Regions from separate parts of the Homo sapiens genome. Here region 1 is linked to region 2. The links are contacts of gene promoters, found by promoter capture Hi-C in human tissues and cell types (Jung and others, 2019). All regions are on one chromosome and are shown on one strand. The core of a region is centred on a gene start or on the middle of the fragment in contact, and the rest is flanking DNA. Distances in the headings are between cores, read along the strand shown. Region 1 overlaps ZMYM2 (zinc finger MYM-type containing 2). Region 2 holds the start of GJA3 (gap junction protein alpha 3).

Region 1 (4,540 bases), core at 53-2,552, 140 kb after region 2:
ATTTTTTTGAAAGAAAGGGTTTTTTTTTTAACTTTTCAGGTAGGCACAAAAGAGAGGATTTTTATATCCCTTTATTAAATGCCTACTGTGTACAAGGTATTGTGCACTAAAAAAATCTGAAAATAATTTCCTAAGAACATAAATAACTAAAGACAAATGAGCATATCACAAGAAAATACATGTAAAATTAGTGAAATTAGAAATCTATGTCTCAGAGATAAAACATTCATCATTTGATACAATTTAAGTTTGGAAATTTTAATATATTTCAAATTGGACAAGATTTTTCAGATACATATTAATGACAGTAGTAGCAGTGCTCAAAAATGTTAAGGCCTTGAACTCCATTTACATTCCTGCTTACCTCAGGCTGCATTAAGAAAGAGTCCTGCATGTGATCTCGAACCTCCTTCAGGAAGCTTGGATGGCTACCTACCTAAAAAAAGATTTTAAAAGACTTTATAAACACACATAAAGAATAGCTGCTACATTGAAAGGTAAATAAGCATTATGTAAAAGTTGCTTCTCAATTATATTTTGTGACTTACAAACTCATTCCAACTTTTAAAAATGTCTGCCTGTCCTGTCCCCACTACTGTTGCCCAACTTAAAGAATTATCAAATAATTTTATCTTAGAAAAAATGGTATGATGATAAAACAGTAATAATGGGCTAAGGAATTAAAGATAGATACTTAGATCTGACTCACCTCTAATTTCTGAGTAAAATCACTTCTAATTTGGAGTGTTCTAAGATCTCTTTAAAAACTGTTAACACTTATAATGAAACTCGAAGCTTTCTAAATTAAGTCATTTGGAGATTATACAGCTACAATTTCCACCATATGCAAAATGGATTGAGAAATTGTTTTTTTTTGTTGTTGTTGTTGTTTTTTTTTTTTTGAGATGGAGTTTTTGCTTTGTCACCCACGCTGAATTGCAGTGGCATGATTTTGGCTCACTGCAACCTCCACCTCCTGGGTTCAAGCGATTCTCCCACCTCAACCTCCTGAGTAGCTGGGATTACAGGCGCCTGCCACTACGCCTGGCTAGTTTTTGTATTTTTAGTAGAGACAGGGTTTCACCATGTTGGCCAGGCTGGTCTCCAACTCCTGACCTCAAGTGATCGGCCCACCTGGGCCTCCCAAAGTGCTGCGATTACAGTCGTGAGCCACCGTGTCTGGCATGTTTGAGAAATTCTTTTGAAAGCACATATGACAGTTTCCAGCATATAATACGAATACATATCCTTACTCCTTGCACAAAAGTTTTAAAAGATATGCTTCCTGCTTTCCATGAAAGTCAAAATACTATGCTAGAAAAGGAAAACTACTGAAAGGCACAGGACAAGCATTATACAGTCTCCACTGCCAGGATCTAGATTATTAACTAAGTGTATCAATACACTTCAGAAACTAAGTGAGCAATGAGAGCACAGATAAACAACAAAAGGCAGCTAAGTTAAATATAACAGACAAAGGACAAAGGGGGTGAGAGGAAAGTAAGGAAGGATTATGATACAATTTTAGCTCCCAGGTTGCAGAGAAAGAAGACATTCACTATAGCATCTCATGTAGTTGTCTCCAAACACATCCAATTGGGTCTCTTTATCAGTAAAATAGTAAGGCATGGACTCCCACCTATTTATTTAACTAATGAATTATGAACATATAGTATGTAATTACAAAACATGCAAGTAATTTTAAAGAATAAAAGAAACACTATTTTAAATAATTTTTATTTATGTAATAATAGTACTAAGAACATTTTCTCTATCCACTGAAGAAGAATCATTTGGTGTCAGTAGAGATTATGTGGGGAACAGTATAAGGAACTCCTACTCCTCTAGTCAGGGTGGTATCAGCTAATGTCCAGAAAGGAGCCAGAACTCCCATATCCACTCAGCAATAACAAGAAGCTGCTTCTCCCTCACAGATGTAGAGAGGCCAAGTAGAGAGGCCGACCTTTTAACTCCACTTGGCAATACCATAGTACTCAAAATGTTCAAGTTTCAAATAAAAAAATCATTTATCATGCCAAACACCAGGAAAACTAGAATTTAAATAGAAAAGGACAATCAACAGATGCCAACACCAAAATTACAGAGATATTGGAAATACCTGACAAAGATTTTAAAGCAGTCATCATAAAAGTGCTCCAATAACCAATACACATGCACTTAAAAAACAAATGAAAACACAGAAACTTCTAGAAAAGAAATAGAAGATATACAGAAGAATAAAATGGAAAGAATCAGTGAACTGGAAGACAGAATAATAAAAAGTACCCAACCCGAAAAACAGACTGGGTGGGGGGAAAAGTAAAACAGAGCCTTAGGGATCTGTAGGCTTGTAACAAAAAAAAAAAAGTAACATTCATGTCACTGGAGTCCCAAAAGGAAAGGAAAAAGAGGACAGAGTTAGAAAAGTCCTCCAAAAACACTACTGTTTGAAATGTCTCAAATTTGGCAAAAGACATAAATCTACAGATAGAAGGTTAGCAAACACTAGGAAGGATAAAACCCAAAGAAACACCAAGATACACCAAATTCAAATTTCTGAAAACCAAAGACAAAGAAAAAAATCTTGAATCTGGCAAGAGAAATGACACACCTGTAGGTGAAATACAGTTGAAATAGCAGCCTAGAGAAACAGTAAGACAACAGCTCCTCTACTCCACAGACCCTAATCCCATTCACACAAGAAAAGGCCAATTAGCCTAGACTTCCACCCTGGCCGGGCTACAATGTGATGCCTCACCCCAGCACCCTAGCCATGGTAAAGTCAGAGAAGGCCAAGTAGGAAACTTGAACTTCCACCCCACTGGGTGGTAATTAGACACCTTAACCACCTCTACCCTAACTGAGGTGGTCTGACCCAGCAGAAAGTCAGAGCTTTTACCAACAATTTGCAGTAAAGAGGCCAAGACTGATGTAACAGAACCTGAGGAGCAGTAAAGGAAAGAATGAAGTAAAGTAAGCAAAAGCCTAAGGGGCCCATGGAATAAGATCAAATAGACCAACATGAACTTTCTGAGAGTTTCAGAAGAAGAGAAAGGGGCAAAAGATTATCTGAAAAATTAATGGCTAAAAACTTGCCATATTTGATAACAGACACAAATCTACAAATCTAATAAACACAACAAATTACATGTAGGATAAACTCAGAGACACACAATAAGACACTTTATAATCAAACCGTTAAAAGACAAAGAAAATACGGAAAGAAGCAAAACAGAAATGGTTCAGCACAAGAAATTCTCAATAAGATTAACCATCAATTTCACAAAAGAAACAACCATGGAGGCCAAAAGGCAGTGGAATAACATTTAAAATAATAGAGAAAAAAAAGCTTTCAAACAAGAATACTATGTCCAGCAAAACTATCATCCAAAACTGAAGGAAAAATAAAGACACACAGATAAAAGGTGGAGGGAGTTTGTTGCCACTAAATCTACCCTACAAAACAAATGCTAAAAGGAGTCAAAGCTTTTTATTGAAATGGAAGGAATACACTTGACCCAATCTTTAGTAAATATATGGGAGAATACAAAACAAGTATAATTGTATTTTTGCTTTATAAATCCACTTTTTATTTCCTACATGATTTTAAAGACAAATATGCACACAAAATTGTAAATCTATATTACTGGGAATACAATGCTTAAAAATGTAATCTATAACAAAAAGAGGGAACAGATATATAGGAGCAGCATTTTTAAAAGCTGATTAACTTGTTATAAATTCACATTAGATTGAATTATAGGATGTTATATGTAAAGCCTCCCCCACAGTAACCACAAATAATATATTTAAAAACAATACAAAGACAATGAGAAGGAAATCAAAACAGTGCACTACAATCAACTAAACATAAAAGCCATAATGCAGGAAATGAGATACCAAAAAAAAGGTATAGAATATACCGAAAAAAAATAGAAAAATGGCAGAAATAAATCCTTCCTTATTGGTAATTATGTTAAATGTACATGGATCAAATTATCCAATCAAAAGGCATCATTTTTTTCCTATTCTGTCAATTTCTGCTTTTTGATCGGATAATTTGATCCATGTACATTTAATGTAATTACTGATAAGGAAGGATTTATTTATCCAAAGATACAAACAGGTCAAAAGTAAAAGGATGGAAAAAGATACTCCACACAAATAAACAGTAACTAAGAGAGTTGGGGTTGCCATATTAATATAAGGCAAAAAGAGCCTATATGTGAAAAACTGACACAAGAGACAGAAAAATACATACTGAACAAAGGGTCTACTTACCAAGAAGATATAACAAATATAAACATATACATACCAAGTATCAAAACCCCCAAAATACACTTAAATAAATTAACAGACGTAAAAGGAGAAATAGACAATAACTGAGGTAGAAGCAGATAATTGTACAATAATAGCTGGAGACATCAATACACCATTTACAATAGTGGACAAACCATCTAGACAGAATTTCAACTAAGTAAAGACAAATCTTGAACAACAATATAAACTAGAGTTATTAATAACAAACATATATTGAGTA
Region 2 (5,296 bases), core at 1,471-3,970:
GTGCTTAAAAGCACCATTAAATTCTGCTTTCACATGAACACACACAAGATTACCACGTTTGCTCTGGGCTGCTGCGTATTGGAAGGACATACACATTCAACAAATATTTGTTGAACTTCCATTCTGTACACAAAGCACAAAGAAAGATTCGTTCACAGTCCGTGTGGGTACTGGAAAGCAGTTCCAGCCCTGCCTGCCAGGGGGCACCCCAGGCAAGCACATCTCAGTGGCTGCTAGAAAGTGAATTGAGGCTGAGTCTCTCCACACCCAAGTGTTAGGCGTTCTAGGCTCAGAAAGAGACAATGACAATGCGGGCAATTCTCTCTTCACTGTGTCCTCTTCTTTGCTAGAAATGTTATTAGAATATGGAAATGTGACATTCAGCACTAATCAGTTTGACATATGAATATATCTATACACATATTTCTCCCTGAAATTGGCCTAAATACTCTTTCTTGGAACCAAATGAGAAGCAAACAACCTTTACAACTAAACATTAAACCATAAGATGAACATCTTAGTTGTCTACCTAGAAATTGTACAGTATGACAAGTGTAAAGAAACTGCTAGCTTCTTAGTTGTGCTGGTCTTTACACAATACCACTTTAAAAATTGTTTTATGGTAGTAAAATATACATAACCTTTAATTTACCATTTAACCTTTCTTAATGTGTACAGTTCTGTGGCATTAAGTACATTCACATTGTTATGCAACCATTACCATCATCTGCTTCCAAAACTATTTCTATCTTCCCAAACTAAAACTCCGTACCTATGAAACTCTATCTTCCCGTTTCCCACTGCCCCAGCTGCTGGTAACCACACTTCTACTTTCCGTCTCTATGATTTTGACTGCTGTAGGTACCTCATGTAAATGGAATCATACAGTATTTGTGACTTTTGTGACTGGCTTATTTCATTTAGCATAATGTACTCAAGGTTCGTCCACGTTGTAGCATGTGATGGGGCTCTCCCTTTTTAAGGCTGAATAATATTCCACTGTAGGTATGCAATACATTTTGTTTATCCATTCATCCATTGATGGACACCTTTTGGCTATAGTAAATAATGCTTGTATGAACATATATGTAAAATATTTGTTCGAATTACATAATATAATTTAAAATCTATATTTTAATAAAAATTTTAAAATTATTACAATATTATATTTCCATTTTTATCCTCAGAATACCAATAATAGCATTTGGCAAACAGACTACAAATATTAACAATTCCTAGTGCTTTTGTGATCAACAAAAAAAAAAAAACTATTCCTGTGCTTCTCAGAGAAAATGTTTTAAATGAGAAAAATATTCAAGTATTTTAAGACCTTCAAAGGTAGCATTTTTCAATTAAAAATTAAAAACTAAGTCTCCGTAACTACTACCTACTCCATACATACACCGCAAAGTTCCCAAAGGGAGAAGATATTTTAGATGCGCCTTTAGGAGCTTAGTTTTTCCTCCTTGGGATAACTTTAAATTCAGATCTCAGCAGAACAAACGCATTTTTCAGGGCAAGCCAACTGCTAATCCGAGTAGATCTAAACGCTAACGAAGGCAGCCGACGGAAGCTGCTCCATGAAGACACGAAAACTATCAGACTTGCATTTTGCCACATTCCTGGAATAAACTTATTACTCATAAAGGTGATTTTGAAGCCATTTCAGCTTGTGGAATGATCACCGAAATGCAGTCCACCGATATTTGTTAATATCCCAGGCTGGTCAAACCCCACTCCAGACCTTGGGGGACGGGGAGGGGACCCGCGGCCTCTCTAGGCTGTGCCCAGACAGCAGACAAGGACGCGATGCCGCCCTCGGTCCGCGGCCTTCCGCGGTAGGCGTCCCTCTCAAGCGTGGTAAAACCACCCCGAAGGGAACAGAAAACGTTAAAATCTTCGTTGGGCGCCAGCAGGCAGGTTAGGCCTCGCCCTGGCATCTCGTCTCCAGGACCAGATGGAGCGAGTGACCCGCGGGGACACCTTCCCGGTCACCTCGAGCGCAATAAAACAAGTTCTTTTTTTAAAAATAAGCATCCGTGTGCCTGCCGGCTAAATTAAGTGTGTCTGAAGAGAAGCAGGATGGCGGCCGCTATTTATAACCTCCCGCCCCGCCCGGGCGCCACTCCTCGACAGCACCCACGCTGTGCCCGGCGGCGCTTCCGCGGGGACTTCCTGCTCGGTGGTCCCCGCCCCGCCCCGCGCCAGCCGTCCGGAACCCGCGTCCCCAGGCGGCTGCAGGCGGGCGAGACCTAGGTGCCCGACGCCCACGCGCCTCCGACCGTGGGAGCGCCCGGAGAGCAGCTACCTCGCCGGGCCTGCGAAGCCCAGGACAGGCGCGAGCGGGGCGCGGGCTGGCGCATCTGCGTGCGGTGGGCGCCCCGCAAGCGGGTCGGGCCCGCCCCAACAGCCCTCGGCTCTCCTCTCACGTCCCGCGCGGGCATGCCCCGGAGTGCGTAGGCGGCAGGGAAGAGCCCCCGCGTCCACATCCCCAGGGCCCGCGCAGGTGCGGGATGGGGATGCAGGCGCTAGGCATGGACGTGCGCGCGGGGTAGGGTGTGGAATGCGGACGCGGGCGAGTGCTGTGGCTGCGCGTACAGGGTAGGGATGCGGGGGCGGTAGGTGTGCGTGCTGGGAAGCGCGCGGGGCGGGGCTGTTCGGAGGCGGCGGGGGCGTGGCGCGGCGTCCTGAGCTGCAGCTTGGGGGCGTCGGGCGCAGCGCACACTGGGGCTGCAGGGATGGCGATCAGGGCGGGGAGGTCGGGCCCTGGCGCGGGGCGCACGCGTGAAGCAGCACCGCACGTGTGAAAGGAATTCTTTTCAGAGCGGCCGGGAGCCCTGCTCCGGAGGAACGCACCCGGGTCGCCGCCGCGGCAGAGCGGGGTAAGGCGGGCCGGGCGCCCCGGAGGCCAGGCACAGGGGCCGAGGGCAGCGCGGGGCGGGGACGGGCGGGTCGGCGGCGCAGCGGAGCTGCCGGGCGAGCCCAGCGGGCTGAGACTGCCGAGCTGGGAAGCCGAGCCCCGGCACGTGTGCGGCTCCCAGCCCCCTAGGATTCTTTCAGGATTCTTCAAAAAGTTGTGGGGAGCTCGGGAAATTTGTGAGAAACTTTTGGAATAATTGATCTTCCTCCTTTGCTCCTGGAGGTCTGGAGAGCAGCGCCTCGTTTGGCTTCCCTTGATGGACAGTCCAAGGCCGAGTTTAAGTTGTTTTCCTGGGGTTGTTTTCCCCCTCGGGTGGAGGAAGCCGGGCTGTCCCGGACCGTCAGGCTGTAGGGCTCCTAGCGATGCTGAAATGCTTGAAAACTCTAAGCAGATGTCACCGCGCCAGCTAACGGCGCGCACCCAGCCGTCCACGGGCATTCAGCATCGCCGTGCTCCTAAAAGTCCTGTTGGGATTGTTTAGAAACAAGGTTGGCTCGCCTACATTTTTTTCAGAAACTTTTTAAAACTTTTTATTTTTAAGAAACACTGTAGCTATTAATGCCACGACCAGATTTCTCGACCTGTATGTTTGTTATGATGTGTTCAACTATAAGGAATTTGCAGAGGAGTGGAAAAGCACTGTCCGAGCCCCTTCCCGTAGGAGACTTGAGAAAACAAACGGCAGTGACGCGGCTGCATTTGCTTTGTTGCCGACTCCACACTAGTGAGCAAAATTCATCCTACCATGTAGAGTTCTCGGTTCGTGAATATGTGACTGCAACTTTAGAACTCCAGTTTTTATTTTATCAAGATGTCTCCAAAACATGCCATTTAAAAATGATTCTATACAAACAGCTGACAAGCGAATTATGGGTCTCATCACCCAGGAATTAAAAACCATGGTGATTTATGATGTGCGCATCACTTCACTGGCGGTCCATCCATGTGCAAGACAAACATTAAAAGATTAAAGAGGAAAAAAGAGGGATTTATTTTCCGAATATCAGTGTGTTCAAAGTAAACATCAGCTAGTTTGGCACAGATTCCACCTGCTCAGCAGTTTGGTTCATATCGAGATAAGCATCTCATAAGGGCAATGCATGTGTTGCTGTAGTGGAAAGTAATTCACGAAACGGTACTACTCTAACAAATCAGACAGTACTGTTTCTTAACCAGGAACCGTTAACTGGCTGAAAGCTGTCTTAAAAGAATGGCGGGTAACAAAATTTTTTGCCAATAAGGAAAATATTTTTGACCCAGTTTTCTTGAATGTTACTCACATTTTAACTTATTATATTCATTTCTCTTAGCTAAAATAACGTGTACACACTACATTTGAAACGAAAAATTACGTTTATCGCAGCCTTTTTTTTTTTTTTTTTTTTTTTTTTTTTTGAGATGGAGTCTCGCTCTGTCACCCAGGCTGGAGTGCAGTGGTGCGATCTCGGCTCACTGCAACCTCCCGAGTAGCTGGGACTACAGGCGTCTACCACCATGCCTTCTTCCTCCCTCCGCTGGATGGTAGCTATTCCCAGTACTATGTAGTACTTACATTTTGATCTGTTTTTTGCCACTCTGCCTCTCTCATAGATTGCAAATGAATCTCCTGAGAGTGAGGACTGGATCTTAATTGTTTTGCTGTCCTCAGTGTGTGGCACAGTGCCACACACAATAGGTAATAATGTTTTATAATAATAATAAATGTTTACTGAATTGAGGAGGGAAAAAATCCAATATATGTGACAACAGCATATATGTCTCTAAAAAACAGTATGTTTCTGCAATTTCTGTATAATGCTTAAAGGCAATAAAAATAATAAAGTTTCATCTTAATTTTCATTCCTACAGTGGTGGAAAATTCCTCATGATAACTAGGTTAGTACTCTACTGCTTGCTTTTTTTCTTTTTCTTTTTCTTTTTTTTTTTTTTTTTTTTTTTTGAGAGTTTTGCTCTTGTCCAGGCTGGAGTGCAATGGCACAGTGGCACAGTCTTGGCTCATTGCGACTTCTGCCTCCCAGTTAAAGCGATTCTCCTGCCTCAGCCTCCCTTGTAGCTGGGATTACAGGCATGCGCCACCACGCCTGGCTAATTTTTGTATTTTTAGTAGAGACACAGTTTCACCATGTTGGACAGGCTGGTCTCAAACTCCTGACCTCAGGTGATCCACCCACCTCAGCCTCCCAAAGTGCTGGAATTACAGGCGTGAGCCACCGCGCCCAGCCTACTGCTTGCTTTTTTAAAACTCCTGTACATCTCCAAAAGTAATGGTTGATGTGAATAGTTTCCACACTCTTATGTGTCTTATTTAATTTGAAGAATTGGTTTGCTTTAAATTTACTGTTAACAAACTAATGATACTAGATATAAAAATTAATT

The links. Contacts are between HindIII fragments. The study calls those that stand out against the background at their distance.
Region 1: a fragment that was not itself captured here is called in contact with the fragment with the promoter of GJA3 in region 2 in 2 of the 25 tissues and cell types used here (IMR-90 fibroblasts and lymphoblastoid cells).

The regions. Positions count from the first base shown.
Region 1 is chr13:20,015,443-20,019,982 of GRCh38, reverse strand. It overlaps ZMYM2 (zinc finger MYM-type containing 2), which reads right to left. Exons shown (of 25, transcript NM_197968.4): 7 at 365-436. Among named protein-coding and RNA genes, the nearest start is that of ZMYM2, 59 kb to the right of the region's middle. The HindIII fragment of the contact is 4,232 bases long and covers 1-3,418 here.
Region 2 is chr13:20,158,476-20,163,771 of GRCh38, reverse strand. GJA3 (gap junction protein alpha 3) reads left to right here and starts at 2,720. Exons shown (of 2, transcript NM_021954.4): 1 at 2,720-2,882. RefSeq lists silencers at 2,070-2,429, 2,660-2,739, 2,900-2,989. The HindIII fragment of the contact is 27,118 bases long and covers 1-5,296 here.